Regions from separate parts of the Homo sapiens genome. Here all the other regions are linked to region 3. The links are contacts of gene promoters, found by promoter capture Hi-C in human tissues and cell types (Jung and others, 2019). All regions are on one chromosome and are shown on one strand. Each heading gives the region's core, a stretch centred on a gene start or on the middle of the fragment in contact. The rest is flanking DNA. Distances are from core to core; before and after follow the strand shown. Region 1 overlaps RGS12 (regulator of G protein signaling 12). Region 2 overlaps RGS12 (regulator of G protein signaling 12). Region 3 holds the start of DOK7 (docking protein 7).

Evidence for each region. Contacts are between HindIII fragments. The study calls those that stand out against the background at their distance.
Region 1: a fragment that was not itself captured here is called in contact with the fragment with the promoter of DOK7 in region 3 in 4 of the 25 tissues and cell types used here (bladder, dorsolateral prefrontal cortex, lymphoblastoid cells and 1 more).
Region 2: a fragment that was not itself captured here is called in contact with the fragment with the promoter of DOK7 in region 3 in 2 of the 25 tissues and cell types used here (lymphoblastoid cells and thymus).

The regions. Positions count from the first base shown.
Region 1 is chr4:3,349,325-3,352,260 of GRCh38, forward strand. The region is part of intron 3 of RGS12 (regulator of G protein signaling 12); the gene reads left to right. Among named protein-coding and RNA genes, the nearest start is that of RGS12, 58 kb to the left of the region's middle. The HindIII fragment of the contact is 4,811 bases long and covers 1-2,936 here.
Region 2 is chr4:3,367,404-3,370,534 of GRCh38, forward strand. All of the region lies in intron 3 of RGS12 (regulator of G protein signaling 12), which reads left to right. Among named protein-coding and RNA genes, the nearest start is that of HGFAC, 73 kb to the right of the region's middle. The HindIII fragment of the contact is 3,568 bases long and covers 1-3,131 here.
Region 3 is chr4:3,461,481-3,464,579 of GRCh38, forward strand. It overlaps DOK7 (docking protein 7), which reads left to right and starts at 1,826. Exons shown (of 7, transcript NM_173660.5): 1 at 1,826-1,949; 2 at 2,026-2,071. The coding sequence starts at 1,896. RefSeq lists an enhancer at 604-1,451. The HindIII fragment of the contact is 11,592 bases long and covers 1-3,099 here.

The sequences.
Region 1 (2,936 bases), core at 376-2,875, 110 kb before region 3:
ACAACAGGCATTTTACTTTAGGACAAAAATTTACCACACAGGAGTCTTTGTCATACAAAATTATTCATTTTTGTTTTTAACCTTCCTTACTAAGATACATCTACATACCTATAACTTTCTTCACATCTCTCGCTCTCCTACTTAGTGGTTTCTTTCTCTTTGCTTTCTAAATCCATATTTTGAAACAAATTTTAAATAATCTCCAAACTAGACAAAATTACTCTTTTTTTCAATAAAGAACACATTTTTATTCCTCTCATAATTTTTCTCATCAGAAACATACCTTACTTTTCGTATACTTTGTATACTGAAATATATATATGTAAGAACTTTAACTCTTAGTAACTGTAATTTTTAGTGAAAACCTTGGAATCAGTATTTTATAGATGAGAACCATTTTATAATTTTTGGAAACATGTTTTCCCGTTACATAATTACTTTGTGTATTAACAGGCAAAAATATATTTAGTCCTTCTCTAAAATTTAATAAGCCAAGAACAAACTTACATTTGTGTTCAGCAATGTATGTTTTAGTACTTTATCTTATATGGAAATGACTTAGACATTTTATGAGTATCATTTAATTTAACATAGCATAACTTTAAGATTTCAGATTACATGACAGTCTATAAGCACTTTCCCATCTACGTTTATGTACTTTATTTATTTTTAATAATTATACCTAGGTTACTTATGAAAACTGAGATATAGAAAAAGCTAGTCTTCATTTCAAGTTATTTCCCTTTTCACCATTTGTATAGCCTATGAGTATCAGGTTTTCACCTGAGAAACTTAAATATAGGGGTATTTTGCTGATAACACAGAAGATACAGCAATTTTGATTAAACTAACAGTGTTAGTCTTAGTCATTAAAAAGTTATACAAATAAAGATAATTGTGTCTTTAGTCTGGATTTATACTTTTATAACCTTAAGACATCTAGTAGAGATAAATATAATCCTCTCTGACCAGTAAAGCTGGGCAAAAATGTATGCTGACAGTTTTGAAGACACTTCTATTTTTATTTTATCAACAAATTTAAAACCAACTTATTTATCCAAGATTTACTTAAGTCAGCTGGGTGTGGTGGCTCATGCCTATAATCCCAGCACTTTGGGAGGCTGAGGCAAGAGGATTGCTTGAGCCCAGGAGTTTGAGACCAGCCTGGGCAACATGGCAAGATCCCATCTCTACAAAAAATAAAAAAATTAGGCAGGTATGATGGTACACACCTGTAGTCCCAGCTACTCAAGAGGCTGAGGTGGAAGGATCACTGGAGCCCAGGAGGTTGAAGCCACAGTGAGCCATGTTTGTCCCACTGCACCCCAGCCTGGGTGACAGAGAAATAACCTATCTCAAAAAAACAAAAAACAAAAAAAACAAAAAAGATTTATTTAAGTCACACGAACTAAAAAGCATTTGGGTTAATTACTATATATTTTACATGAGTGCTTGTTTAAGCCAATCCAAATAGAATTTCTTAAGGGATTTCTGGCTAACTATGTCAGATTTTATCATGTAGATGTAACATACAATATGTATAAACATACATAAAAGCAAATACAGACACAAATAAAGATCTTATGGCTTTCATTTTAGAATTTTGGTCATGAAACAGAAAAACATAGTAATACAAATTCACTGGTTTATAAAATATAGTTGGATCAAATTATATTTTTGACAAAACGGAACTTTTATCTGTGGCTAAGTTCTGTTTACCCTGATAAGTAATTAATGAAGGCTGTGGACCAGAATTATGGATAAAGCAGTTTTCATAGCAGTTTGACTTTTAAAAACCTTTTAATCCTTTTTTCAGATTCAATTGAATTTAGGGTTGAATATTCAAATGTTTACATTTTAGCTAGGCCTGGCTAAATTGTATTAAAAAAAAACAACAAAATTTTCAGGTTGCCTTGAATTAGTAACAAATCTTTTTGTTTGTTTGCTTTTTCTGGCTCTTAAGTGTCAGACAAAATAATTTTTATGTCAGACAGAGATACCTTTTAGTATTGCTCTGAGCTTAAGGTTTTAACCTGTTTGATCTGACAGCCCTTAGCTTATATAAACATTTATAAAGTTTTTTTTTTAGAATATCGATTTTTCAATTAGCTTTTTCATCACCCTAAGCAATTGTTAGACAAACCTAAATTTACATTTCCAAAAGGTGTCTGCATCGTTGGTTGCCATAGATTTGGCATAATTTATAAAGCCATTAGTTTGAAAGCCCTTTAACACTTAAAAGAAAATCTTAGTTTCCATAAGCAATGAGTTTATCTTAATGCTGGCAGAAAAGTCATCAGATTCAAAGTTGGCAGAAAAAAGAGATGGAGAGTTAACCCTGTAGTTAGTTGCAGTTTTTGACAAGCTTAGACAGAAAATGGCTGTCCAGTGCTGCGTTTTTCCTGATGTAGTTTGCCCATCACCACACGAGAACGGACCACAGTATAGCTGGCCAGAGTCCTAGAAGACTTGGTGTGCCTCAATGTTTAAGAATCCCATTTCATTTCTTATTAATCTCTCAAGAGCAAAGAAAATCCTATAATTCCTGTCAGGGAGTTTAGACTGGTGCCTTATGTGGTGCTGACTGCCCTTGTTAATTGGCCATCCCATACCCATTATTTAGAATCTTTATTTTTGCTCTCAGATCATGGCCAGAATCAAGCAAGGGAAAAAAGAGCCAAATCATATACAGATGTGTGTAAGCAAATCAAAATAAAACAAAAAATAAGTGTGTTCACAGAAATTTTAAGCCAGGCATGCAGTCCAAACAAAACATTAAACCGGGTGTGCAGAACCAGACAGAATATAAATTCTGTAGTAACCAGAGGGACATTGTCCTTATACCAGAAGGGGCTTGCCAGAAGAGACAAAAGGTCTTTTATCATCCGAGACAGATGCAAGGTCCTTTATTAAGGTCCTTTATTAACTCAGATCCC
Region 2 (3,131 bases), core at 193-2,692, 94 kb before region 3:
TTCTTCCTGTGCCCAGACTGGCCATGCATGTGTTGGTGAAGGGCTGTGCTGGGCTTCCCGGGCCCGGGGTCTGAACCCGACTCCCACCAGGCACTGAGTAAACACATCCATCCAAACAAGGGAGGTGGAGCACGAAGCAGGGGCAATGGGCTGGGGCCCAGAATCTTCTGGGGATGTGGCTGTCAGCAGCTCCTGGACCTCTGACCATGTGGCAGGGGGCTCATCCCCGTCTCCCCAGGGCACTTGCTGCTGGGGCCCTCAGGCGGTCACAGGAGTTCTCCCAGGCGTGTTCTGGCCCTGCCCCATCCCTTTCCTCACCCATCTGCAGAGGGGAGTTACTGGCTAGGCAGGGGAGGTCAGCAGCTGCAGAAAAGGACAGGCTCCCACAAAAGAGGAGATGGGGGGAGCCTAGAGAGAGACAGGAGAACCCGGAGGCCCTGTTGTTGGAGGCCCTGTTGTTAGTGACCGGACAGCAACAGGCGGACCCCTAGCAGCCTGGGCTGCTTTGTGGGCTTTGCGAATAAACCACGTAGACAATGTGAAATTGTGTTTCTTCCTTTCCGTCCTCGATGGAACACAATGGGATGAAGATGTTTCTGTCTGAAAGAACTGAGGTGAAATCAGTTTAGCACTTAGGTGATAACCCCTCAGCAGAAGGCCCCACGCATGCCCAGGCTGCCTTCGGTTCTCAGGCGCTGGTGGCTGTTCCCAGGGTCTGGGGGCCCTGGGGGGCCAGGATGCTGTTGTCCTCTGCTCCCGCCTGGAGACCACTGTCTCCTCCAAAGCTCTGTAAACTGTCAGTAGTGCAGGCCCCTCAGAAGCCAATGAGGTTAACGGGCAGGTCAGCGTCAGGGGCTCACCCAGCCACCCCAGAACCCCTTGCTGTTGTTCCAGAACCTTCAGATTGCTTTCTCTGAAAGTGTGCCTGTGTGTGTGCCTGTGTGTGTGTGCACCTGTGTGTGTGCGTGCCTGTGTGTGGGTGCCTGTGTGTGTGGGGTGCCTGTGTGTGTGTGAGTGCCTGTGTGTGTGTGGGTGCCTGTGTGTGTGTGGGGTGCCTTTGTGTGTGGGGGTGCCTGTGTGTGAGGTGCCTGTGTGTGTGTGGGTGCCTGTGTGTGTGTGGGGTACGTGTGTGTGTGGGGTACGTGTGTGGGGTGCATGTGTGTGTGTGTGGGGTGCCTGTGTGTGTGCCTGTGTGTGTGTGGGTACCTGTGTGTGGGGGGGTACATGTGTGTGTGTGGTACGTGTGTGGGGTGCATGTGTGTGTAGGGGGGGTGCCTGTGTGTGTGGGGGTGCCTGTGTGTGTTGGGGGTGCCTGTGTGTGTTGGGGGGTGCCTGTGTGTGTTGGGGGGTGCCTGTGTGTGTGTGGTGGGGTGGATGCTGACGGGAAGGCAGGGGACGAGGATGCTGGTTTTGTCTGAGAGATGTGGCTTAGCCCAGGAATGGTGATGTGGTCTGGTCTATACGTGCTCCGCCTTCTGTCATACTGCCTGCCATGCCTGTCGTACCTAATGTAGACCCTCTGGCCCAGAGCCCAGGGGAAGTGGGTGGGGCCATGGTAGGTAGAGGCGGGGCCCTGTCGAGGAACAGGGCTTCTGAGGCCACTCCAGACCTATGGGGCTGACCGGGGGTCCCGGTAGCTTGGGCGGGAGCCCCTTCCTGGGCTGGTGACAGAAGTGGAGGTGGCACCCCTTTCAGCGAGGAGCAGCTGTGCAGAGGGAGGTGTGGCTGCCTTGGGGTGATTCCTCTGCTTGCTGGGGGTGTGGCTGGGCGCCTGCCCCCCGCCCCTGCAGACTCCCCCACACTTTTGTTACGTGCACAGCTCCTGAGAAAAGCCTTCTAAGGAAGCTTGAGCTGCTGCGCATTCTGCAAGCAGCCATTGTGCATTTCTGAAACGAAGTGTGTGTCCAGTGCTGTGGGTTCTGCTCACTGAACACTCTCGTGCGGGGAATGCTCATGTTCCTCCACAGAAAGGCAGAAGCAGAGCTGGCACAGTTCCTTCCCAGCTGGCAGCCCAACCCCAGACCCCAGAGCCATGGACCTAGCCTGGTGGCCCTGTGGGCATTGAGTTTGCAGTTCCTGGCAAGAAGCTTCCCCAGGTCTAATGGCGAAGCTTCCCTCAACCTAACGTTTCAGGGTTAGGACTCCTAGAGCCCATTAGGACGAGACTCTAGGTGGCCCATGCTGCATGATTTTGACAGCAGGGAAGCACTTTGGGATGAGCAGTTTACCCCTAAATCTCTAGAAAATTAACAGATGATTTTGCAGTGATCCCTAGGCTTTACAAATAGTTTTCTTTTTCTTTCCTCCTTCCTTTTTAGAGCCAGGATCCATCATGGTTCACTCGCTTTCTGGTTGTTTCATATATTTGGAGGGTGGGCAGAGCAGATCACGGAATACAGATAGCACTGAGAGGGCTTTAGGCGTGTGCCAGATCCCGCTGGCTGCCACCCAGTAAGCTGGTGCATGTGGAGGCTTAGAATAGATTCATTGGCAGCTGTAATTAAGGTTGTGAACTGCACCACGATGCTAAAAAAAACAAATTCTCTGCAGCTGTTTTACTGACTGAGAAATTACCCCTGTCGGCCGAAGTTTTATTCTTCTGATTTGGTAGAGGAAATAGTTTAAAAATGATCTCACAGCGTGATTTATGTAAACGGCGCTTCTTTCTTTGGATGAGACAATTGAGATAGAGTCTGAAACCCTGGCAAGCCACAGCTTCCTGCAGTGTCCTGTTGCCATGGGTTACGAAGGGAGCGAGAGGGAACTTCATCGGAAATGCCTTTAAACTTTTCTCACACGCACAAGCTGCGGTGTTGAATGGTGTGTCTTAGACCCGGGTGCCTAGTGTGGCTCGGTGCCTTACAATGAATTTGGGGAAAGAGTTGTCAAACGAAACCCATGTTTCTAATGACCAGCAGGTAAGTAGTTCCGGCTTTTTCTTTTCATTTAATCAGTGGTAGGAAAGCGTGGCACCCTGGCTATCCTGTTTTAGCGAGTGGCAGCTGTGGGACCTGCAAATGCTTGTAAGGATAAGCTTTGGAAATGGTTTTCATGTGTCTGCACCACAGCTCAAAGCGAGTGCTGCGGGGGCTCAGCCCAGGCTCTGGGACCGCAGCACGTCCCGGGCCCGA
Region 3 (3,099 bases), core at 576-3,075:
GTCACAGCGCTCTCGGCCAGTCTGGGAGTGGCAGCCAGGCCACCTCCTCCTCCTGCAGGAAGCTTCCTCCACCTTTCAGCAGCCCTGGAGCCGCATGGAGCAGGGAAGGGAGTTGTCTACCCTCCGGCATCCTGTGTGTTCCAGGCTGTGTGGGAGCAGGTGCAGCTGCCAGGCATGGCAGGAGCCTGGGCCCGGGCCAGCACTCAGGAATGCAGCAGGGCCCTGCCTCTCCCTGTAGGGATAAGCAAGTGCCAGGCGCCCAGGGCAGCGGATGTGTCTGTGGCTACAGCCCCAACGGCCCCCGCCTCCGCACCGGCTGTCCTGGGCCAGCCCCTTGGGGGCCTGGGATGTGTGGGGAGCATGAATGGGGCTCTGTGACCCAGCAACTGTTCTGCGGAAGGCGGCTGGTGGCTGCACAGGTGACTGCGGGGGTGGGTGGGGGATGCAAAATTCTGCTTCCTGGGCCTGGTGTCCCCCGCCTTGCATGAGGCCCTGACAAGACATCACCGAAGCACCAAAGCCAACCCTTGTGGCCCACCGGAGACCTGTCTCTTGGATCACAGGGGCAGTGGGGAGGGGCGCCCAGGGCTCCCGATGCCTCTGAGCCCTGCTCTGAGGTCAGCCGATGTGGCTCAGTCCTGGCTGTGAGGCCTCACGCTGCCCTGATTCCATTTGCTCCTCAGTGCGAGGCAGACAGAGCCCAGCCTAGGGTCTGGATGGGATGAAATGAAGACGTCTCCTCCCTAACGGGACACTGTCTACCCCTTCCTTCTTCTCCCCCGAGAACCGTCAGCCCCGTGAGGATGGGGTCTAGGGTAGGGCATGTGGACGGAGCTTTGCTGTTTGTCCAGGTGCTTATCTTCTAGGGTGCCATCGCCCCTCCCCACTGCTGTTCCCGTATCTGCTGGGTGTCCCCAACCCCAGGGTGGTGGAGGCCGTCTCTCGGATGGGGCTGACACCCAAGGCACGGACCTGCCAGGTCCCCCAAAGCACATGGCCTCTCTGCAGAAGAACCTGGATGTGACATCTAATGCCCAGGCCAGAGCTTGGGGACAGCTGGACTGGAGCCACAGGGTCAAGGAGGGGGAGTCCAGAAGCGCAAAGTCCACCCAGCTGGGAGGGCTGCTGGCAGGTCCTTTACAAAGCAGGCAGCTCCTCTGCCCATCGGAGCCGGCTGGCCTAACCAGGGCCTGCTCTTGCCTGGGATGGGGGCAGAAGAGGTGGAGACCTGGGGCCCTGAGGCGGCACTGTGGGTCCTGGACCCGCCCACCTGCACTGGGGTCCCTGCAGGCTTTTAATGGGAACAGAAATGGAGGAAGAGACAGAGGCTGCCAGGGGCTCCCCGACCCCTACTGCCTGCCTGGGGAGGGGTCACCTCAGTGTGGGGGAAGCCTGGGGATGTGAGAGCATCCTAGGCCTGGGCTGCCTGTGGCCAGTCTGTTGTCCGGGTGTCTAGTGACCCCTGGGGTAGGGGCAGATGCCAGTCTGGGAAGCCGGATTGTTTGAAGACCAACTTTAAAGTTGGGAGCAGTGCCCAGAGCGGGGCCGATGTCTGCTAGGTGGTTGTCTCTGCTTTTTGAAAAAGAAGTCCCCGCCCGACCCCCGCCCCGCCAGGCGCTGGTCTGAGCGTCTGAGCCCAGATGGTGCGCTTGCTCCAGAGGGCGGGCGGCTCCAGTGGCCGCCGCGGGACGGTGGGGCCAGAGGGGCCCGTGGGGGTGGGGGAGCCGCCCGCAGGAGAAGGAGCCCCGCCCGCGCCGGCCCTGGAGTCGCCGGTGTCGCCGCCCTGCCCGCGGGCCCGCCCTCCTGGCCCAGCCCAGGGCCCTGCGAGCTATTTTGAAAGTGACCCTGGGCTGGGGCGCCGGGGCGAGCGCGGCGGCGCGGAACCATGACAGAAGATGACCGAGGCGGCGCTGGTGGAGGGCCAGGTCAAGCTGCGGGACGGCAAGAAGGTCGGGGCGCGTCGGGGGCGCGGGGGGGGGGGGCGCGGGCGCGGGCGGCGGCTCACGCTCCCCCCTGTCCCCGCAGTGGAAGAGTAGGTGGCTGGTGCTGCGGAAGCCGTCGCCCGTGGCAGGTGAGCGGGGCGGGCGGGGGACGGGGGGCGCGGGGGTAGCGACACGGGTTACCGAGGCCCGGGGCAGTAATGCCAGCTTGCCCAAAATCGCCGCCGCTGTCACCCCGCCGGGAAACCCGAGAGCCCCGTGCGGACCCGGACCCCCCGGCGCCCCTGGGAGCGCAGGTGGGGGCCCTGGACGGAAGAACCCTCTTTCCAGCAGGGCAGACTGAGGCCCGAGGGGCTGCCTGGTGGCCCTGTAGGCGGAGGGGACGCAGGCCCTGAGCCCCCCAGCAGAGCAGCAAGGGGCCCCCCAGAAGCAAAGCCCCACATACCTGAGGGTTGAGCTGTGCTTGTGGAAACGCTCAGAGCAGGGCCCCCGAACCCAGCCTCCAGGGGTGCTGCGTGGGTTAGCGCTGACCCTGGACCCCTCCCAGGCAGACGAGAGGCTGGGCTGCGGTAGGGCAGGGCAGAGTGACTGCCACATTGCTGGGGGAACAGTCCTCTGGGAGGAGGCAGGGGTCCCCCCCCAGTCCCCGCCCTGAGCCAGCACCCCAGCTTGGGGAGGGTCAGCATGGAGCCCCCAGGTCTGGCAGCCCAGGCCGCCTGCAGCGCTGGGCCTGTAGGGAGGGCTGAGCCGGGCCTGCAGCTGCTCCAGAGGACAGGTGCGGCAGAGCCGGCCAGGCCCGGGTCTGGGTGGGATGCTCGGCCTGTGTGCATGGGGGGCTGTACGCCAGGGGGCTGCCAGAGCACCCTCCAGGACGGGTGTCTGTGACTCCCAGGGAGGGTGTGGGGCAGGGATCCCTCCTGCGTCCCCTCTGCAGGGCCTCAGGTGGTCCTGGAGGAAAGCACTTCCTGCCTGCCTCCGCCTCCCCTTGCAGGGCCTGGACTGCACGCTGGTCACTTCTCCACTCAGCCCTCCGTGCCCAGACCTCCTGCCTGGAGCTGTGGGGGCACCGACAGAGCCTGGGAGGGCGTCTTTGTCCTCCGGGGCTGCAGGGGACCTGGTATAGGAAGGGATGGGGTCTGGGCAGAGTGAGAGGCCCTGC